5 separate regions of the Homo sapiens genome follow, and all the other regions are linked to region 1. Evidence: promoter capture Hi-C in human tissues and cell types (Jung and others, 2019). All regions are on one chromosome and are shown on one strand. Each heading gives the region's core, a stretch centred on a gene start or on the middle of the fragment in contact. The rest is flanking DNA. Distances are from core to core; before and after follow the strand shown.

Region 1 (2,845 bases), core at 183-2,682:
GAGGTGACAGCAGCCCCCAACACCGCGGGAAGTATAGAGAAAATGGGATCCAGAAGGAGAGGAAGTAGTGTGTGTGTGTGTGTGTGTGTGTGTGTGTGTGTGTGACAGAGAGAGAGAGATAGATAGAAAGAGATTATCTCCTTTTGCAACTGGAACCAAGAGTGTGTGTCCATCTCTAGGAAAAGTGGTCTGCACTGGGACTGGGACAGAAGTGGGAGTGAAGTGTCAGCTAAAAATAGGCTCCGCACCGAGAGGCTGTGGAAATGAAGATAAGTGAGGTTTGTGCCAGCCCCCGAGGGTGTGTGTGTGTGTGTCTGTGTTGTGGGGTGTATTCAGCAGCATATGCGCTGTGTAATTTCTGACCTTCCCTCTCCCTGTCAGTTGCCCCTTCTTCCTTTGATTGTGGCTAATGAAGAATAATAAATCCAGGGGCAGGGTTTGCCAGTGGATCCTTCCAAGACTCAACTCGAACTGTACTGGATACAGGGAGGAGGAGGAAGAGAAAAGGGGGGCAAGAGGAGCGTGTGTGTGTGCCTGTGTGTATGTGTGTGTGTGTTGTGGGAGGGGTGGGGACAGCGGGGAGGGGGAGGAGTCGCATGCGCACAGACGACCCGAGCCTGCTCCGCGGCTGTCCAATCCGCTGAGAGCTGCGAGAAATCGAGTGAGAGAAAGCCCTGCAGCCCCTCCGACCCCATGTCTCTTTGGCACCAGGCACCCGCCGGGCCGTGGGGGGCTCGTAGCCGAACGCCGACCTCCGCTCGTATTGGGCTGGGAGTTCAGAGCCGCGCGCAGAACCCGGGTTGGCCGCAACGTCTGTGTTCTCAGCGGTGGCCGGGAACCTGGGATCAGGGTCACCTGAGCTGACGGGGTGGGGGCGGGCCGAGTGGGGTTGGAAGCCTGGAACTTAGTGGTAAGCAGGAGGCGTAGGAGGTGGCAGCCAGGTAAGAGGCACTCTTACCTACCCAACGCTGGCTTGGGCCGCAACTTTATTTGGGAGTTTCTTTTTCCGGTGAGACAGAGACCCGGCAGAAGAAGCGGGAGGGGCTGGAGGCTGGTCCTTAGGTAGGCACTGCCCGGCGACTGGAGCGCGGACCTGGCCATTTGGGTGGGGTTGAGTGGGGGCGCGATTGTGAGTAGCAGCCGCGGGACGCTGCGAAGGGGCGGCGGCAACAGAGCACGGGCGGGGGCAGAAAAGAGGCGGCGGAGGGCGCGGTGGGGGAGCGCGAGGCGAGTGCTGAGAGAGCAGAAAGGACTCAAGCCTGAGGGGAGTAGAGAGGAAGAAGGGGCAACGCGAGAAACCGAACAGGAGCCGGCGTTTCCTGGCAAGGGAGGGCGGAGGCGCGCGGGAGAGAGGGAGAGAGGGAGGGCGGGGGGCGCGGGGGTAGGCGCGGGGAGAGGGGAGTATAACTCGCCGGCCGCGAGGAGCGGGGGCAGTTTCGGGTGCCGAGGTCTGCAGCTAGCGGCAAGCGGAGTCAGGCATCCGTTCAGACTGACAGCAGAGGCGGCGAAGGAGCGCGTAGCCGAGATCAGGCGTACAGAGTCCGGAGGCGGCGGCGGGTGAGCTCAACTTCGCACAGCCCTTCCCAGCTCCAGCCCCGGCTGGCCCGGCACTTCTCGGAGGGTCCCGGCAGCCGGGACCAGTGAGTGCCTCTACGGACCAGCGCCCCGGCGGGCGGGAAGATGATGATGATGTCCCTGAACAGCAAGCAGGCGTTTAGCATGCCGCACGGCGGCAGCCTGCACGTGGAGCCCAAGTACTCGGCACTGCACAGCACCTCGCCGGGCTCCTCGGCTCCCATCGCGCCCTCGGCCAGCTCCCCCAGCAGCTCGAGCAACGCTGGTGGTGGCGGCGGCGGCGGCGGCGGCGGCGGCGGCGGCGGAGGCCGAAGCAGCAGCTCCAGCAGCAGTGGCAGCAGCGGCGGCGGGGGCTCGGAGGCTATGCGGAGAGCCTGTCTTCCAACCCCACCGGTGCGTATTTCTGCATAATCACCGCTTAAAGGCACATTTTGACAGCCCCCTTTATCTGCTTGATGTTTTTTTCATGTCTGCACAGCAAATCACCCCACACCTCCAACCAATTTTCCCCTCTCTCTCTCTTAAGTATTCAGCAGGTCTTGCCTTTCATATTAATTTTTATGACCTGGGATGTTGCCTGTGCGCGTGTTGTGTTGTGTTTCGTTGTGTCTACAGGCTCACTTTCCTCCTCCTCCTGCACTCTCGGCTTCTTTCTGTGGCTTCCCTCTTTTTCTCTTCACCTCTGTTTTCAGGATTATTATTATTATTATTTTAACGATCTGGGAATGTTGTAGGCGCGGCGACGGTGTCGAGCCCTGGGCCGGGGCTTCCGGAGAGAGGGCGTACAATTCCCTGCTGAGCGTAATGTGTGCCTTCTACTTACAATTGCAGAGCAATATATTCGGCGGGCTGGATGAGAGTCTGCTGGCCCGCGCCGAGGCTCTGGCAGCCGTGGACATCGTCTCCCAGAGCAAGAGCCACCACCACCATCCACCCCACCACAGCCCCTTCAAACCGGACGCCACCTACCACACTATGAATACCATCCCGTGCACGTCGGCCGCCTCTTCTTCATCGGTGCCCATCTCGCACCCTTCCGCGTTGGCGGGCACGCACCACCACCACCACCATCACCACCACCACCACCACCAACCGCACCAGGCGCTGGAGGGCGAGCTGCTGGAGCACCTGAGTCCCGGGCTGGCCCTGGGCGCTATGGCGGGCCCCGACGGCGCTGTGGTGTCCACGCCGGCTCACGCGCCGCACATGGCCACCATGAACCCCATGCACCAAGCAGCGCTCAGCATGGCCCACGCGCACGGGCTGCCGT
Region 2 (2,845 bases), core at 162-2,661, 390 kb before region 1:
GGCTGGTGGCTGGCAGATGGGCAGGAACAGGATGTACAGTAGTCATTTAAGTTTGCACATCCCCAGGCCGGGCGTGGTGGCTCATGCCTATAAACCTAGCACTTTGGGAGGCCGAGGTGGGCAGAGTGCCTGAGCTCAGAAGTTCGAGACTGGCCTGGGCAACATGATGAAATCCCATCTCTACTAAAAATACAAAAACTTAGCCAGGCTTGGTGGCAAGTGCCTGTAATCCCAGCTACTTGGGAGGCTGAGGCAGGAGATCGCTTGAACCTGGGAGGCAGAGGTTGCAATGAGCTGAGATCACGCCTCTGCACTCCAGCCTGGGTGACAAGAGCGAGACTCCATATCAAGAAAAAAAGAAAAAAGTTTGTACATCCCCAGACTTTCAGTGTGTTGAGACTTCTGTAGTGATCAAGTAACTGGAGCTGAATTCCATGTCTGGGTGGATGAAGTTCACAGAAGAGAACAGCCATGGCGTTTGAGATGCCGGAGAGTTCAGAAGTGGGTGGAGATCTGGGAGAGCCCGTTTCAGGTGATTTGGATGAGGACCCTATGATCCAGCATGACCCTGTGATTTCAGTGCCTTTGTTTGCACTCGTGTTGACAACCACACCGCACCCTGCTAGAGTGACAGTGTTCAATGTTTAATACAGAGTTTCTCATAATCAGGTTTGAAGAGAAGTTCTCCAGAGTCTACAAAATTTTTTTCCCTTTAAATGGGTTTTGCATTTTACTCACATTTGAGAAAAACTGTCCTATAGTGCAACTAAGATTTGTTAAAGAAAGTCTTATAAGACCTTTCATATATTGCCTGTATACAAACTGACGATGATAATTTTTATCTAGTTTTTAAAGTAAGTACATCAGAATTTCTATAAGGAAATCTTTTATTTTTTATGTATATAAAGCTTTCATCAATTCAGATCGATCTAACTTGATTTAGCTTAAATTACTGAGGGTCTATTGTTCTGTCAAGGCATGCAAGATGAAAGTTGCTTGCATATCATACCTGCAGTCTTGCCTTGGAGAGTTAATATTTACACAGCTATGAAGTAATATATTCCTATGAGGAGCACAAGGCAGTGCTTCACAGTTTATTCACAATAGGAATTGTAGTAAAAGAGTCAGTTTTCCTTATAAATTAATAATGACCCGATATAGAGAAGAGTGCTTGTAATTGTGAAGGTTCATGTCCTACCTATTAAGATCACAATTTGAAAAGTCAATACACATTTTTTGGCTACTACTTTGAGCCAGGCATTGTGCGAGGCACAGTAGAAAAACAGAAATGTTTACTGCACTGGAGGAGACAGCAATATAAACTAATGATTAAACTATGCAGAGGTTTCAGAAGACTTGAGGGACACGTTGTAAGGACATGTCAAAGGACGCAAGTATGGCACTGGCTTGGGAAGTCTTCATGGAGGAGGTGACATTTTTGTCAGGCTTCCAGGGGAAGAGGATTTCTATGCCAAGAAGACAGCAAAGACAAGAACACAAAGGTATGAAATTCTATACAAGGTAGCTTGCTCATCAAAGAAACACTGGTGTTGGGAATGGCATTCTAAGGTTTATCATTCCTATTTCTCAAAACTGAAATTCAGATCACTTACATTTTGTCCCTTCTGCTGCATATGTTTTCCTTTTGGTCCTAAACCTTGATGCAGAGAAAATATCTCTCATAAAAAGGCAAGGGCTACCTCTAGATTTTAACATCATGGTGTGGTGGAGGTACCCATAGAAATACCCGGGAGACTATGAAGTTTACATCTATATAACGACAAATGACATAACGGTGCAGAAATGAATCAAGAGAAATCTAAAGACACTTAGAAGGCATCACAAGGCCATCTGAAATCAGGTTAAAAATAAGCCACAGTTTCTCTTGTGATTTCTGAAACATTCTTTGTTTAATCATATAATTATTTTCATCTTCCAGTCATCATAAATAATCCACTTTATGACTTAACCAATCCTTTTGAAAAAATTTGGTATTTAGCACAAACACTGAACATTAGCTAGAGGTGTGTTAATTTTTAACAGAATAGGGAAAAATTTTAAAAAACCCACAAAAATTTTAATACTAAGAAAAAACATGAAAATACCAACATTATTACCCATTAAAAAATCTAATTTTGTAACAACCATTAAAAAAAATCCAGGTGGAAAAATGAGTAAACATAAATATAATCTAATGTATTTCTTTCATAAATACATTTAGACAAAACAAATGCATAAAACAGATAGCTTTACAGTGTATAAACATAACAAAATATTTTAAGCTCTGAATAATTAAATCCCAATAAGCATGAATTAAAAATAAATTTTGATTTTATTTTTTGTTCTTTATGAAAAAATATGCCAAGGAATTTGTGTAAAAAAAAGAAATAGGCATAAACATATCACTAACGCCACCAAAGTTCACTATGTAAAGATTATTTGAAAACAAAGCACATTTTTAAAGCAAACGATAAAATGTTATCATAGCATTTTCAGTTGAATTTTATCCCATGATCACACCTACTATAGGTGTTAGACAATAGAGGTAGATAAGTTGGGGGCGGGGATCAGTATTTTAATGTTAGGGAGAAAGATTTTTATGATAGGGCAGATAGATGACAGACAGACAGACACTTCCATTTACTCCAAAATTCAAAGAAACTTGTAGGAACAAAACCTAAGAGCCTTCCTGTGCTCCATAGGTAAGCACAATTACCTAAGCAAAATTACTGTAGTTTTAGACACAAGTAAAATTCTTTATAACAGTGTGTACTACAGCCTGGTTAGCATAGATTTTTGCAGGATCTGGCATTAGCCTTAAAATTCACACTGAGAATAACTCTTA
Region 3 (2,845 bases), core at 82-2,581, 300 kb after region 1:
TGGATTCTGCAGGTTGCTTCTCTCATTATTTTCTTCCATTGTCTGCTTTTTGGCCAACTTATTATTTGTCTGTATCTTCAGCACAAAGTAGATAAGAAGAAAATTTGATAAATGCATTGATGGTTCAGTTGGCATCTTTGGTAAGAGTTTTGTAAGGGACATGATTGCAATTAAAGAATAAAGATTTTAAGGATAGCTATGGATTTCCAATGTTTATGTGTTGCTTTCCTGTTACAATCAATAATTGAAAATTGCTTATACTTGCTGTTTTCTAAAAGCCTTATCGCTCACAAATAAAGGCTTTCCCTTAGATGTGATAGATGATAAGAACAATTCTCAACAAGGAGACAGCTACCCTGAGAAAGCACACAGCCATAACAATATAATGAATCACTTCAAAATGTACTGTTTTTTAAAAGTTGTTTAAAACAACTTTATCTCACACTTTACATGGTTCAGGAATAAGGACAGGGTATCATAGGCATGGATTTTTTCTCCTCCATGATGATGGGAGCCTCTGCTGAGAAAACTCAGAAGCTGTAGTAACCCAATGACAGGGGACAGGAATCACCTTGAAGTGTCTTCACTCACTTTTCTAGTGGTTGATGCTGTTAGCTGGGACTCAACTGGGGCTATCTGCCAGAACTCACACATGTGGTCTCCTCATGTGGCATGGACTCCCTCACATCATGGCAACCTAAGACTTCTTATATAGCAGCTCCAGGCTCCAAAGGCAAGTATTTTAGAGAAAAGCCAGGCAGAAGCTTTATCCCCTTTTAGGGTCTAACCTTGGAAGTCACATAGCATCCACTTCTACTGTAATAACAAGTTCACCCAGATTCAAGGCAAATGAATACAGAACCACCTATTGATAGGAGAGTGTCAAAGTTTCATTATAATAAAAGAATATGGCATGGGAGATATTATTGCAGCCCTTTTTGGAAAATGCAGTGTGCCAGAGTGGTGAGCAATTAGGAAGGCAAGTCTATAAAATCAAATTATCTAAATCCTATTCCAAAGAGGAAGAAGTGTGGACATGACATCTGTGAACTTAGAATAGAAAAATTGTTACATGGTGCAAGGGCTGTCAGATACAAAAGAACCCATGCTTCTGTTAAATAGAGAGGCATCCAAAAGGCCAGGGGCTCCTGATCCCACCCCGTCTATGTCCACCAGGTTTGACCTGTACTCTTAGCTTCACCAAGAAGCTGAAAGGCTTGTTTTAGGTTTTAAATGGCTTATCTTCAGCATTACTACCTGTGTGACCCAGGGAAAATCACAATAAAATCTGGGCCTTGAATATATTCAGCAGATATTTAATGAGCTCCTATTTGGTGCCAGGCACTGTTCTAGGTGCCAAAGATACAGCAGTGAAGAAAAAGACAAAACTCTCTGATTTCACAGACTTTGCAGTATGGGGGTAAATAGGGAGAAAGACACTAAACAAATAAGCAAAATATATAGAACCTCAGATGTTGATAAGATTCTCTGCTGGAAAACAAAGCAGAGCACTAGAAACTACCCAGATGCTCACCAATGGCAAAGGGATGAGTAAAAGCAGAAGGAGACAAGCTCAAAGACGTTATGGAGAATTTTGTTCGGTGTCCCAATAGTGTAATGTCTTGATGGTTACTCTAAAAACTGGCTTTTATTCTTATTGAGGTAAGAATCCATTGGAGGATACAGAGCATAGAATTGACACGATCTGACTTGCATCCTGAAAAAATCACTCTGAGTTTTTCTTTCAGGTTAGACTGTAGTGGGGGAAAGGGTAGACAGCAGAGAGGCCAGCCCAAAACCTCCTGTGAAATACAGGGGAGAGAGAGTGGTGGCTTAGGTAGGAGTAGAGAAGGAGAGATGTAGTCAAACCTGAAATAGAACCACCTGTGGATAGCTAAGACACAATATTCCTCTAGTGCTACAAAGCCATGGTGGAGGTAGGGGTGCAGAAGCACTAAGACGAGAGAAAATCTTCTGAAATTCAGTGTAGAAATAGACAGCTTTGTGTTACTGAAAAAGATTATTATCCTGGCCTAAAAATAATTTTTTACATAATTAAAGAGAATTCTAATGGAGATCAGTGGTTTATTTTAAATATAACAGAATCCTAGTACTACCAGTTTATCAAGGCATGATATGATCTATGAAACAAAATGCCCACTTATTTTATGCAGTTAAGGCATTAAGAGTGGAAGTTAATGAACATTAATTGGAAAGCAAAGGGTCTACCCTTTAAAGGGTCTATGCTTTAAAGTGCACAATCTAAACAGCAAATGTTAGTCCTCTCCTACAGACTAAACATTAGAAACATACTATATTACCCTTTATAACTTCATAACGTAATGACAATTTTTTTAATTTAAAAAATCTATTTTTCTGATTAGATGTTATATTAAACAGTTGAGTTACTGGAATAACAAGAACTTACTAAATGGCAGCATCATACAGAGCATATGGTAAGAAGTTATAACTCATGTGAGGTTTGAAGGGACACCAAAGCTCCCCAAACGGGCCTCCCAAGAGCTTACTTCAGAGGAGCTGTGAAGACTTTTCCACAGAGTTCCAGAGTCTTCCAATGTTACAGTGAACATCGGAATCATCTAAGTTCTTAACCCACACCAGTGTAGCCCTAGTAAATTTAAAAAGGGAGAGAAGAAAACAACTAAGTTTGCCTCATTTGGGGCATTCCATCCTCTATAAATTTTAGACTCTTTTCTAAAAGCCCCACTTTACTTGCCAAAGCATTATGCAGTGGGCACTGGGGCCAGGGTAATCTCTTCATAATTGCAGGGGTCTTTGAAGAGTTCACCCAGGAGCTTCAAAATGAGGAACAGTGCTTGCAATT
Region 4 (2,845 bases), core at 233-2,732, 290 kb after region 1:
ACTCTTACTATATGCTTAATGATGTGCCAGGTGCTGTTTTCAATACTTTACATGTAATTAGCCTATTTAAACCTGACAACATTTTTAATGAGATAGGTGCTATCATTTTAATCTCCATTGTACAGATGAGGAAACTATAGCACAAAGAGTTTAATTAACATGCTGAAGATCACACACACCTGTGAGTGATGGAGCTGGTTCATCAACAGAGGCAGTCCAACCCTAGACCCCGTATTATTAGCCATCATTATCTTTACACTCCCTCCAAGATACAGAGAATATTTCAAGAAATATAGAAGAGGCTTTAACATTATTAGAAAATATCATGTTAAACTTTATTGCAGTAAATATAAAATTTTACATAAATAGGCACTTATTTTTTAAAATAACAATAGCTGGAGAAGATTTAGAAGACCAGTTACAAGACCTACCTACCCCTTTTCCCCTGACCCCTACTCTCACCAAAGGAGAGAAACTATTCTGTTTTACATGGGAGTTCTACCAAATTTTCAATACTAAGAAATTCCCATTTCATCCAAAATGTGCTAGAGCATTGAAACGGATAAAAAATTATTTAGTCAATTTTACAAAATACAAGTAACCATTGTAATTTCTTTCACTGGGGGAGGGCCCAGAAAGACTGCAGAGGAAGAGATGTTTCTAGGTCCTTGCATTATCTGAAAAAATTTTTAATTTGCCCTCACTTTTAATTGAATAAGATAAAAATTCTTTAGCCAATTTTACAAAACCTTAAACTGTAGCATAAGAAAATTAAAATCGTAGCTCAATATCATTATTATTTAGATACAAAAATCACACACGCGCGTGCACACTAACACACAGAGAAGTCAATAAATCGAAACCATCGTAAGTAGAGTTTATCTCAGAATTGGAAGAATAGTTCAAAATAGAAAATCTAGTAACTTTAAATAATCTAGTAGGTGCTAGAAAATTATTTCACAAGGTTCAACACTCACACATGATTAAGAAAAATAGAAACTAAAAAAAAGTTTCTTTATCTTGGTAACGTGTATCTATTAAAAAACCTATGGCAAAGGGCTTTCTCTTTGGGATACATTAGAATAGTCTTCACTGAAGCCAGGAATGTGAAGAGACGCCGCTGTCAATGCTATTATGTAACATCATTGAAATGAAAGGTCCTTGTTAATGTGGGACTCAGTATTTTAATAATGTCAGTTCTCCTAAAATAACATATGAACTTAACACAATCCCAATAAAAGCTTAATGATATTTCCCCAACTCTTGACAAGATAATTCTAAAATTCATATAAAACAGTGAATATACAAGAAAAACTTTCTCATTTGGAACAAAAGGGACTGTCTGCCAAATATAAGAATGCATTTCAACTATATTGATAAAAAGATTAGTGGCATTAATATAAGAAAAGGCAAATAAATCAATATAACAGAATATATATGTACATGTATGTGTATAGGTATATGCATACACACATGAAAATTTGGCATTTAATAAAAGGAACATTTCAATTCAGGGTAAAGTTTTTAGGACAACTGATTTGCAAATATTACTGGTTTTATTTTTTTAGATTAATATTTTATATTCAACAAATAACATATATATAGCATGTGCTATATTACTTTTCTGCACTTAAGAATATACTTAATACACTTAAATCTCAGTTTCCTGATCATCTCCTTAACCCTAATTAATACATGTGATAGGTTTATATTAACATTGTCATGAAGATCTTTCAGCTGCTTAATCATATTATTTGCCAGAGAATTAGTTGAGAACTGTTTCTTCCTTTTCTATTTTCTTGAAGAGTTCGTGTTGAGTTTGTCATTATTTCTTCCCCTAATGTTAGGTAGAATTCATTAGTGGAGCCACATGGGGCTGGAATTTTCTTTGTAGGAAGTTTTTTTAACTATAGATTTAATGTCTTTAATAAATATAAATCTCTTCTGTTATCTGTTTCTATGTAAGTGAACTTTGGCAGTGTCTTTTGAGAAATTTAGCCATTTCATCTAAGTCGTTGAGTTTATCAGCATAAAGTTTATCTCCTAGTAACACTTTAATATCTGTGTAATCTGTAGTAATATGTCCCTTTTCATTTCCCAAATTGGTAAACTGTGTCTTCTATTTTTTCTCTGATCAGTTTGACGAATGGTTGATCAATTTTTTTTCAAAGAACCAGCATTAGTTTCATGGGTTTTTTGGTTGCTTTCTGCCCTTATTTTACTATTCCTTTTTCTCTACTAACTTTGAGTTTAATTTGCTTTCTTTTTCCAGTTTTTGAAAATGAAAACTTAGAAAATTAATTTTGGATATTTATATTTTTCTAATACAAGCATTTTAATGCTATAAATTTCCTTTTAAGCACTGCTTTAGCTGTATCCCACAAATTTTGACATGCTGTGTTTTCTTTTTCATTCAGTTAAAATATTTTCTAATTTGACTTGTGATTTCTTCTTTGATTCAGGGGTTATTTAGAAGTATGTTGTCTTGCTTCCCAATTCGGGAAGATTTTCCAAAACTCTTTCTGCTATCATTTTTAACTTAATTTCATTCCTGTAGGAGAACACAGTTGGAAGGATTTAAATTGTTTAAACATGTTAAAATTTGTTTTATGGCCCAGACTATAATCTACTTTGATAAATCCTCCATGCACAGTTGAACATAATGTATTCTACTGTTGTTTGGTGGAATATTCTGTAAGTGTCAATTACTTAAGGTGATTAAAGGCATTGTCCAAGGCTTCTATATTCCTACTGGTTTTTCTACCAGCTATTGAAAGAGTGATGTTGGAATCTCCAACAAAAATTATGGGTTTTTCTACTTCTCCTCTTCTTTCTATCAGTTTTG
Region 5 (2,845 bases), core at 141-2,640, 280 kb before region 1:
TGCTTGATTCTTTATAAGCTTGATCACATTTAATATTAAAAATACCCTGAGAAGAAGGCACTATATTCCTCTTTCCTTTCTTCTTCTTCTTTTTTTTAATCTCTGAGACAGGGTCTTGCTTTGTTGCCCAGGCTGGAGTATAGTGGCACAATCATAGCTCACTGCAACCTCAAACTCCTGGGCTCAAAATATCCTACTGCCTCAGCCTTCTGAGTAGCTGGAAACACAGGCAGGCAACACCACACCTGGCTTTTTGTTTGTTTGTTTGTTTGTTTTTTTGTTAGTAGAGACAAGGTCTTGCTACATTACCCAGGTTGGTTGCAAACTTCTTAGCTCAAGTAGTCCTCTCTCCTCAGACTCCCAAAATGCTGGGATTACAGGCATGAGCCACCATGCCCAGCCTCTCTTTCTTTTTAAATCAAGTCACTGAAGCTTGAAGAGGAAGAGTACTTTCCCAAGTTCGTTTAGCAAGAAAGAAGTAAACTAGGATTCAAAGCCTGGAAGTTGGTCTTCAGAGCTTAGGAGTCAACAAATATACAGATCTGATTAGGTCACCCCCCGGCTCACCTATAAGTTCAATGAACTTATTCTCTGGGCTGGGCCTCTGTGCATGCTGTTCCCTCTACTAGGAACATGTATTTTCTGCTCTCTACTCCCTACAACCCCTTTCCTCATCTTTCAGGTATCAGCACTCCTGAGGTCCCTAGAATGGATTAAAGTCTTTAACATATACTCCCATAGTTCCCTATCTTCTCCTATCATAGCATTTATCACATTATATTTTAATAATTGTCTTCTCCACTAGATGAAAACTCTGAGGAAGCAGGGCAATCTATCTTGCTTCTTATTGTTCTGTGGCACTCATATAATGCCTAATTTGTGGTATGCACTCAACAAATATTACTTAAAGTTAAAAATGTTGGCAAAATATTTTGTGATTTATTGTTCAATGAGAAATATAACAGATAATCAAAATGCAAAATAAACCATCAAATAAAAATTATATTCTTTCACAATATAGCTTCTAAACAGATCATCAAGAAGGTTGTAAAGACATGTAGAAAGTGACCGACTTGCCTGGTAATCCAGGAAATTCTCCCTTATTTCCACAAGTCTGCCAGGGTCATTTATCTAGAAGGCTGCAACAGTTGCAGTATTGCTGGGCTTATGGCACCCCCCTAGTGCTGAAATGGCTGCAGTGAGCACAGACACAGGTTGCAAAACTCCTTTGAATTCCTGGAAAGCCCTCTCAAGAAGGATGAGTACAAACAGGTCCAGACTGTGAAGAATGGAATAAATACCTAAATCTTTAATGCTCAGACATGGATAAATGTCCAAAAGCATCAGAAACATCCAGGAAAACATGACATCAACAAACAGACTAAATAAGGCACCAGTGACCAATTCTGGAGTGATGGAGATATGTGACCTCTCAGACATGGAATTTAAAACAGCTGTCTTCAGGAAGCTCAATGAATTCAACATAACACCTGAGAAGAAATTCAGAATTCTGTTAGAGAAATTTAACAAAGAGATTGACATTCTTTTAAAAATCAAGCAAAAATTCTGGAGCTGAAAAATTTGATTGACAAACCGAAAAATGTATCAGTCTCTCAACAGCAGAATTGATCCAGCAGAAGCAAGAATTAGTGAGCTTGAAGACAGGTATATAAAAATACACAGCCAGAAAAGGAAAAATAAAAAAGAATAAAAAAGAATGAAGTATGCCTACAAGACATAGAAAATAGCCTCAAAAGGGCAAATCAAATCTAAGAGTTATCGGCCTTAAGAGGCTGTAGAGAAAGAAATCAGGGTAGAATGTTTATTCAAAGAAATAATAATAAAGAACTTTCCAATTCTAGAGAGAAATATTAATATCCAGGTAGAAGAAGGTCAAAGAACACCAAGCAGATTGACCCTAAATAAGACTACTCCAAGACATATAATAATCCAACTCTCAAAGGTCAAGGAAAAAGAAAGGATGCTAAAAACAGCAAGAGAAAAGAGGCAAATAACATATAAATGATCCCTGATATGTCTGGCAGCAGACTTCTCCATGAAAACGTTACAGGCCAGGAGGGAGTGGGATGACATATTCAAAATGCTGAAGGAAAAAATATTTCAACCTGTAATACTATATACAGCAAAATTATCTTTCAAACATGAAGAACAAATAATGTTGTAAATGTAAGTACACAAATACAGAATACTCTAATAATGTAAACCACTCATATCTTCAGTAGAATGAATATACAAATCTATTAAAAATAATAGATTAAATCTAATAAAAATAATAACTACAACAATTTGATAATAGACAATATAATAAGATATAGAGACAACAAAAAGTCAAAATGTGAAATGAATGAATTTAAAGCATGAGATTTTTAGTTTTTTCCTTGCGTGTTTTTTTCTTTGTGATTAAAGTTTTCATCGTTTTAAAATAATTGGTTATAAGATGTTATTTGCAAGCCTCATGCTAAACACAAAGCAAAAATCTATAACACAGACACAAAAAGTAAAAAGCAAGAAATTAAAAGATACTGTGAGAGAAAAATTACTTATAAACAAAAGAAAACAGAAAGAAAATAAAAAAGACAGGACCAACAAAACTACCAGAAAACACATAATAAAAAAAGCAGTAGTAAGTGCTTACCTATAAATAATAACACTGAATGTAAACGGACCAAATTCTCCAATCAAAAGACAAAGTGGCTAAGTAGATTTTTTAAAACAAGACCCAACAATATGCTGCCTACAAAAAACTCAATTCACCTATAAAAACACACATAGACTGAAAATGAAGGGATGGAAAAAGATATTCTATGCAAATGTAAATGAATAA

The links. Contacts are between HindIII fragments. The study calls those that stand out against the background at their distance.
Region 2: a fragment that was not itself captured here is called in contact with the fragment with the promoter of POU4F2 in region 1 in 2 of the 25 tissues and cell types used here (dorsolateral prefrontal cortex and thymus).
Region 3: a contact is called between a fragment that was not itself captured here and the fragment with the promoter of POU4F2 in region 1, in 5 of the 25 tissues and cell types used here (H1 embryonic stem cells, adrenal gland, bladder and 2 more).
Region 4: a contact is called between a fragment that was not itself captured here and the fragment with the promoter of POU4F2 in region 1, in 5 of the 25 tissues and cell types used here (adrenal gland, aorta, mesendoderm cells and 2 more).
Region 5: a fragment that was not itself captured here is called in contact with the fragment with the promoter of POU4F2 in region 1 in 2 of the 25 tissues and cell types used here (mesenchymal stem cells and small bowel).

The regions. Positions count from the first base shown.
Region 1 is chr4:146,637,461-146,640,305 of GRCh38, forward strand. POU4F2 (POU class 4 homeobox 2) reads left to right here and starts at 1,433. Exons shown (of 2, transcript NM_004575.3): 1 at 1,433-1,968; 2 at 2,407-2,845. The coding sequence starts at 1,681. RefSeq lists enhancers at 1-368, 369-950, 951-1,531, 1,532-2,113. The HindIII fragment of the contact is 18,734 bases long and covers 1-2,845 here.
Region 2 is chr4:146,252,096-146,254,940 of GRCh38, forward strand. SLC10A7 (solute carrier family 10 member 7) reads right to left here. Exons shown (of 12, transcript NM_001029998.6): 12 at 1,886-2,845. Among named protein-coding and RNA genes, the nearest start is that of REELD1, 39 kb to the left of the region's middle. The HindIII fragment of the contact is 5,085 bases long and covers 1-2,845 here.
Region 3 is chr4:146,940,056-146,942,900 of GRCh38, forward strand. All of the region lies in intron 2 of TTC29 (tetratricopeptide repeat domain 29), which reads right to left. It overlaps TTC29-AS1 (TTC29 antisense RNA 1), which reads left to right. Exons shown (of 7, transcript NR_188447.1): 2 at 2,791-2,845. Among named protein-coding and RNA genes, the nearest start is that of TTC29, 4.4 kb to the right of the region's middle. The HindIII fragment of the contact is 6,299 bases long and covers 1-2,845 here.
Region 4 is chr4:146,922,508-146,925,352 of GRCh38, forward strand. All of the region lies in intron 4 of TTC29 (tetratricopeptide repeat domain 29), which reads right to left. Among named protein-coding and RNA genes, the nearest start is that of TTC29-AS1, 10 kb to the right of the region's middle. The HindIII fragment of the contact is 3,987 bases long and covers 1-2,845 here.
Region 5 is chr4:146,360,355-146,363,199 of GRCh38, forward strand. The region is part of intron 5 of SLC10A7 (solute carrier family 10 member 7); the gene reads right to left. Among named protein-coding and RNA genes, the nearest start is that of MIR7849, 47 kb to the right of the region's middle. The HindIII fragment of the contact is 5,669 bases long and covers 1-2,845 here.